Linked DNA regions of Homo sapiens: region 1 is linked to region 2. Evidence: promoter capture Hi-C in 16 types of primary human blood cells and fetal thymus (Javierre and others, 2016). All regions are on one chromosome and are shown on one strand. The core of a region is centred on a gene start or on the middle of the fragment in contact, and the rest is flanking DNA. Distances in the headings are between cores, read along the strand shown.

Region 1 (3,693 bases), core at 1,104-3,603, 2.3 Mb after region 2:
AGGACACACACACACACACACAAGCTAGTGCATGTAAAAACTGGTGAAATTGGAATAAAGCCTGTGGTCTGGTTAACAATATTTTACAGATGTCAGTTTCCTGGTTTTAATATTGTACTATAATCACGTAAGAGGCAATGATCAGAGGAAGGTGGGTGAAGGGTATATGGGACTCTGCTATATTTGCAATTTCCTGTGAATCTATAATTATTTCAAATTAAAGAAGGGGAAAAAATCAAACACAAGACATACAAACTCATCAAGTATTTCCTTTTTTTTTGGAAAAAAAAAAAACACCTACTGATTGTGAATGGCTTTATTGGCTGCTTCCTTTAACTCCCACAACTCTCTGAAATAGATGTTATGAACTCTATTTTAATTTTCATCAAAATGGAGGCTTAGGTTAAGTAATCTGTCCAAGGCACAACTACTGTTAGAGCCAGGGTTTGAATCCAGCACAATATAAATCCCACTCATGGTTGTTTTGGTTTAATCTTGATTGGACTTAAATGACACCGTTCTTTTCTTTAACACCCAGACTGGAGTGCAATGGCATGATCTCGGCTCACTGCAACCTCCGCCTCCCGGGTTCAAACGATTCTCCAGCCCCAGCCTCCCGAGTATCTGGGACTACAGGCATGAGCCACCACACCCAGCTGATTTTTGTATTTTTAGTAGAGACAGGGTTTCACCATATTGGCCAGGCTTGTCTTGAACCCCTGACCTCAAGTGATCTGCCCGCCTCAGCCTCTCAAAGTGTTGGGATTACAGGTGTGAGCCACCGCGCCCGGCCAACACTGTTCTTTTCTGCAATCTATTCTTCTACTTAACAAAGATTAGAGGACTTTACAGTTGCCTTTTTTTTTTTTTTCCAGACGGAGTCTCACTCTGTCGCCAGGTTGGATTGCAGTGGCACGATCCCGGTTCACTGCAACCTCCGCCTCCCAGGTTCAAGCGAGTCTCCTGTCTCAGCCTCCCAAGTAGCTGGGGCTACAGGCGCGCGCCACCAGGCCGAGCTAATTTTTTGTATTTTTAGTAGAGACGGGGTTTCACCGTGTTGGCCAGGATGGTCTCAATCTCTTGACCTCGTGATCCACCCGCCTCGGCCTCCCAAAGTTCTGGGATTATAGGCGTGAGCCACTGTGCCTAGCCTGCCATTACGTTTGTAATCCCAGCACTTTGGGAGGCCGAGGCAGGCGGATCACGAGGTCAGGAGTTCGAGACCAGCCTGGCCAACATAGTGAAACCCCGTCTCTACTAAAAATACAAAAATTAGCCGGGCGTGGTGGCGCGTGCCTGTAGTCCCAGCTACTCGGGAGGCTGAGGCAGGAGAATCGCTTGAACCCGGGAGGTGGAGGCTGCAGCGAGCCGAGATGGCCCTACTGAACACCAGCCCAGGCGACAGTGTGAGATTCCTCTCAAAAGAAAAAAAAATAATAATCTTTCTGCCAGAGGTGAGAGAGCAGAAAAAAAATTAATCAGATTCTCAAATTCCTGTACGTCTCTTAGTAGAGACGGGTTTCTCCTTGTTGGTCAGGCTGATCTTGAACTCCCAATCTCAGGTGATCCGCCCGCCTCGGCCTTCCAAAGTGCTGGGATTACAGGCGTGAGCCACCGCGCCCGGCCACAAGACGTTTTATTGCAACATAAAAACAGGATGTAACGAGTCTTCCAATCACCAATGTAATTAGAGTTGGTTACCAAGTTTCCCCACGCGTCTTCCACCATGAGGGAGAAACGGACTGCAGACAAACCTAGCACCCCTTGAGCAGTTTAATTCGTACTATAAATATGTAGGCACCGTAAGGACGCGATTCTCCAGTTTGCCAGGCCTTTTTCTATCCTTTTGGGGGCACAAGGCGACCTTGCCTCCTGATTCAAAAACTTCGTAAACGTCAATCCTTCTACCCTTTTCTGGTCAGCCCACGAAAGCAGCAGCATGGCACAACTCCCAGCCTAGAGTTCGGGCACTGCCTGTCGTCAGCATAACGAAGAAACCTACACCCACGAAGACTTCAGACCCCACGTGATTACATCACTCAACCACCAGCGCTGGCCTGGAGGAACCCGCTGTCACGTGACCGCTCGTGCCCAATGACCGAGGCCCACGCTTTCCAGACCGCCACAGTCGCTGTCACAGGGCCTGAGTTTGGGCGGCGCCCCGCCCCGGCCGCACGGTGCGCCGGCGTTAATCCTCCCCGAAGGTTCCGGCAGCCAAGATTGCAGGTTCCCACCAAGCATTGTTTCCGAACTGGGCCACGAGAGCGTGTCCCTGATTGGCTTGCTCTGGAGGCTGGGAAGGGACCTGTTAGAGACTGGGACCACTTCCTGAAGCGCGAGGCAGGAAGTTATATGCTTTTTCTGGAGTCCTGTAGAGAAAGTGCTCTCTGCCGCATTGATAGCAGCGAGAGCTGGAGGTGTTGGGTCGGGAGACCAGCCGTTCGATCCCGCCGCAGGTAGGAGCTGGTTTCCATCCTGGCACCACGGCACACACCTCCAGCCTCGAGCCCGGCGCTGCTGCCCGGGGGTCTCCTTCAGGCTCTTTGACGCCGTTCCAGGGGGCACCTATCCAGGCATCCTCTGGGCCTCTAGCCAGAGGACTGGCTCCCGGCTTCAGCACTCCGGGCTGCAGTAAGAAGTGCCCTTATCGCTCTGAGCCCTGCCACCATCCCGTGAACCACCGAAACCCTGGTCCAGCGCGACAGCCTTGGACCTGGGACTGGACGGATCCAAAACGCTCAGCCTCGGCCCCCCACAGACGGGGCTCTGCATCGTCTCTGATATGTCACCCACCATCTCCCACAAGGACAGCAGCCGGCAACGGCGGCCAGGGAATTTCAGTCACTCTCTGGATATGAAGAGCGGTCCCCTGCCGCCAGGCGGTTGGGATGACAGTCATTTGGACTCAGCGGGCCGGGAAGGGGACAGAGAAGCTCTTCTGGGGGATACCGGCACTGGCGACTTCTTAAAAGCCCCACAGAGCTTCCGGGCCGAACTAAGCAGCATTTTGCTACTACTCTTTCTTTACGTGCTTCAGGGTATTCCCCTGGGCTTGGCGGGAAGCATCCCACTCATTTTGCAAAGCAAAAATGTTAGCTATACAGACCAAGCTTTCTTCAGTTTTGTCTTTTGGCCCTTCAGTCTCAAATTACTCTGGGCCCCGTTGGTTGATGCGGTCTACGTTAAGAACTTCGGTCGTCGCAAATCTTGGCTTGTCCCGACACAGTATATACTAGGACTCTTCATGATCTATTTATCCACTCAGGTGGACCGTTTGCTTGGGAATACCGATGACAGAACACCCGACGTGATTGCTCTCACTGTGGCGTTCTTTTTGTTTGAATTCTTGGCCGCCACTCAGGACATTGCCGTCGATGGTTGGGCGTTAACTATGTTATCCAGGGAAAATGTGGGTTATGCTTCTACTTGCAATTCGGTGGGCCAAACAGCGGGTTACTTTTTGGGCAATGTTTTGTTTTTGGCCCTTGAATCTGCCGACTTTTGTAACAAATATTTGCGGTTTCAGCCTCAACCCAGAGGAATCGTTACTCTTTCAGGTAGTGTATTTAAGCTATTATGGTGTTAGGTTTATTTATCCTTTTGAAAGAGTGTGTGACGTTGGAGGGAAGCTCATTAATTTACTGGAAATCATTGTATGGGAGATAACTCAAGGTAAGTTTTCTGTTTCGTCCA
Region 2 (3,323 bases), core at 202-2,701:
ATATGTAAATATTCTTTTGTGAGTATGTATTTGCATAGCCACACTTCTCACAGCAAGCCCTGTCCGGCACAATACAGACAAATGACTCAGGAATATAGATGTTCCTCTAACGTAACAAACCGTTCCGATGAAAATAGCCCAGAAATAGAATTTTAAATCGTAAGCGGGGTGGTGGGGGGGGTAGGCAGAGAGACCTTTACTCCTGGCGAGCGTCTCTTTTTTAGCTCTCCGTAATAAATGAAATTAGAGGGGGTACAAACTTAACGTCGATTTTTTTTTCAGACTCGAAGAGGGATAATCTCTTGTTTTTCAAATTAGTAAATAAACTCGGATGTTTCCCAAGATGCTAAAGAAGAAGTCCTGTAATTCACCATAGAGGGGTCCGAGTGCAGAGAGTAAGGGAGAAGGGTGGGAGTTCTGAGACCTCAGAGAGGAAACGAACGAAGTCGAGCTGTCCTTGACCGGGCGCTAAGGAAACACTTTAAAATGAGATCTGTCAGCTAACAGCTGCTGGGGAAACTTGTTAAATCGACTGGTCCCTTTTAGCGGGGTCTGTCCATAGAGGAGTCAGCTGGGCTCCAGGACACGAATAATAGAGCGAATAACACGGACCGAGGGGCGAGGAGCTTGGAGAAGACCCGGACTCAGCCTGCCTGCGAGCCGGGAAGCTCCTAAGAGAAGCTGCGCGGGTCGGAGAAGGTGCAGGCAACCCTGTCTCTGGGCAGGATGATGCTGGGCGGTGGAGCTACGGCCGGCAGGGGTGGGATTGTGAGGGAGAGGCGGGGATGCAGAATTGGGATGCGGGGTCAGGATGCGGGAATGGGATGCGGGGCCTGTAAACTGCTGGGCGGTTGATGCAGGGCAGGGACGAGGAAAAGCAATGCGAAGCTGAGCATTGCGAGGCACCCTGACTCGAAGCAAGGCTGTAGGGAAGGATGCAGTGTCGGGATACCTGACTGACTCTAAGAGCTGCGCACTTGTCAGTTTCCTCTTGGCCCCACCCCGCGGGGTCTATCCAGCTCCCCAGTGTTTAACTAAGTCGTGACACCAACGCAAAATCCACGCCTAATTAAATTAATTAGGGATTCTTGTCAATCCTGGATTAATGGCCAAGAGCACAGGCGGCAGGGGCTATCTGAAAACCTGAGCGGCCGGGGACCGGCCTTCTCTCCCCGCCCCCTCCGGTCCCCCTGTGCTGCCCTACCACTCCAGCCCCAGCCCGCCCGAACTCCAATCTCTCTCTCTCCTCTTCTCTCTCTCTCTCTCTCTCTCTCTCTCTCTCTCTCTCTCTCTCTCTCTGTTTCTCTCCTTTTCCCCTCCCCAACCCCCGGTAGAGGCGCGACTGCTACCCGGGAAGGGGGCTCACTCCGAGTTGCGAGGGGAGGTAATTTACTCAAAACAAGAGGCCGCCGTTAGGAAGTATAAATAGTGGGACTTCAAGCGCAGCGTCGCTATCAGATCTGAACTCTCCGCAGGAAGAATTGTCAAAGATCTTAACATTGAACAAGCGCGCTCCGGCAGGGAAGCATCAGTTCCCATTTCCCTCCGGCAGCCCCCGCCCCTTCTCTTCTCCTCCTCCTCCTCCCTCTCCTCTTCACCCTTCTCCCCCTCTTCCTCTTCTTCCTCCTCCTCCTCTTCTTACTTCTTTTTCTCCTTCTACTTCTCCTCCTCTTTCTTCTTTCTTCTCCTCTTTTTCTTCTTCTTTCTCCTCCTCCCTCTCCTCCCCCACCTCCTGTCCCATTGATGTGTTATTATTGGGGGGGCTGGAGCAGTAAAAAAAGAAGAAGGAAAAAAAGAGCGGGGCTCTGCTGGCAGAGGTTGAGCGCCGGGCTGACGTGCGGCGGCGATGGAAGAACTTACGGCGTTCGTCTCCAAGTCTTTTGACCAGAAAGTGAAGGAGAAGAAGGAGGCGATCACGTACCGGGAGGTGCTGGAGAGCGGGCCGCTGCGCGGGGCCAAGGAGCCGACCGGCTGCACCGAGGCGGGCCGCGACGACCGCAGCAGCCCGGCAGTCCGGGCGGCCGGCGGAGGCGGCGGCGGAGGAGGCGGAGGCGGCGGCGGAGGAGGCGGAGGAGGTGTAGGAGGAGGAGGAGCAGGCGGAGGAGCTGGAGGAGGGCGCTCTCCCGTCCGGGAGCTGGACATGGGCGCCGCCGAGAGAAGCAGGGAGCCGGGCAGCCCGCGACTGACGGAGGGTAACGACCTGACTGACCCCCGGCAGCGGTTCCCCTTCCCGCCTTCCGGACTCCTCTCGGGCGGGAGAGGACTCCGAGGCCCAGCGGGGAGGGGAGAGGGACACGGAGAGGGCCCTGGACCCCAGCTTTGTCAGCTAGAGTGATAGTGGAAGGGTGGGGGTCCGGTGGTATGCTCGGTCATGGGTGGGGTCCTAGTGTGTTGTGGGGGTGGCGTGGGGGGAAGCGTGTGGGGTTTGTGCGCGCCCTTCCCAGATGTTCCCATTCCACCGAAATGCATTTTTCACCAGCGGGAGGATGGGCCCGCAGCCCGGATGGCCCGCAGGCGGACGTGGAAGTTCGCGGGGCCGGGCTGCAGGAGGGGGTGCTGAACCAGACGGCGGGACTAAAGCTAGCCTCTAGCGCAGAGTTTGCCGGGAGGGAGAAGGGGCAGAGGTGGAAAGCTTAACCCTCCGGTCGCCTAGGTGTTTGGGGCCGCCAAGACCCCTCGAACTCCGCAGAGCCCCTGAATCTTTGGATCTTAGGGGCCAAAACTTCCCATTCTCTTTCAAGGTAGAAGGAAGCCAACGAAAGCTGAGGTCCAGGCTACGCTGCTTCTCCCGGGCGAGGCGTTTCGGTTTCTTGGTGTGTTGGGGGCGGGGGGGGGGGGCGGCGGGGGAGGTGGGGATCTATATTTACACAATTCCTTTAGTGTTTTCAATCACCCAGTACTCGGTTCTCTTAGAGCAAAAATCCTTTGGTGCTAGCTCAGTGTTAGGAAACGTCTTTATCTCAATGGCAGAGCGTTCTATACCAATTCAAAGGAGTTCAACAATAAAATTGATTTGGCACTTGGTGCCTGCAGTAACTGGTGTACTGCCATATTTTTCCAATTAAGAAAATATGTGGCATGCGTGGAATCACATATTTAAGCAAGCAATTAAGTTGTTTATGACACGGTCTGTTCCTGTTTAGATCAGTAATTGGAAATTTGGGGACAAAAATAGAGATTTTATTAAGTCTATGGATCAACTTGAAATTTGGACATCTCCTCGAAGCCCCAAAACTTTGAGTGGCATCCACTGTGTAGATGACATGTAATAGACAAAGCCTTCCCACCTCATTGGCAGAATTTGAAGGGTGTGTTTTCATATT

What was found. The method cuts DNA at HindIII sites, captures the fragments that hold promoters and counts their contacts. A CHiCAGO score of 5 or more calls a contact.
Region 1: a contact is called between the fragment with the promoter of SLC33A1 here and the fragment with the promoter of SHOX2 in region 2, in 1 of 17 cell types (non-activated CD4 T cells). The highest score is 5.4, in non-activated CD4 T cells.

Annotation. Positions count from the first base shown.
Region 1 is chr3:155,853,087-155,856,779 of GRCh38, reverse strand. SLC33A1 (solute carrier family 33 member 1) reads left to right here and starts at 2,353. Exons shown (of 6, transcript NM_004733.4): 1 at 2,353-3,557. The coding sequence starts at 2,783. LOC105374174 (a long non-coding RNA gene) reads right to left here and starts at 2,027. Exons shown (of 3, transcript XR_924607.4): 1 at 1,702-2,027. RefSeq lists enhancers at 1,766-2,325, 2,696-2,765. The HindIII fragment of the contact is 4,607 bases long and covers 1-3,112 here.
Region 2 is chr3:158,104,548-158,107,870 of GRCh38, reverse strand. SHOX2 (SHOX homeobox 2) reads left to right here and starts at 1,451. Exons shown (of 5, transcript NM_001163678.2): 1 at 1,451-2,192. The coding sequence starts at 1,847. RefSeq lists an enhancer at 760-1,263 and a silencer at 2,012-2,061. The HindIII fragment of the contact is 5,227 bases long and covers 1-2,634 here.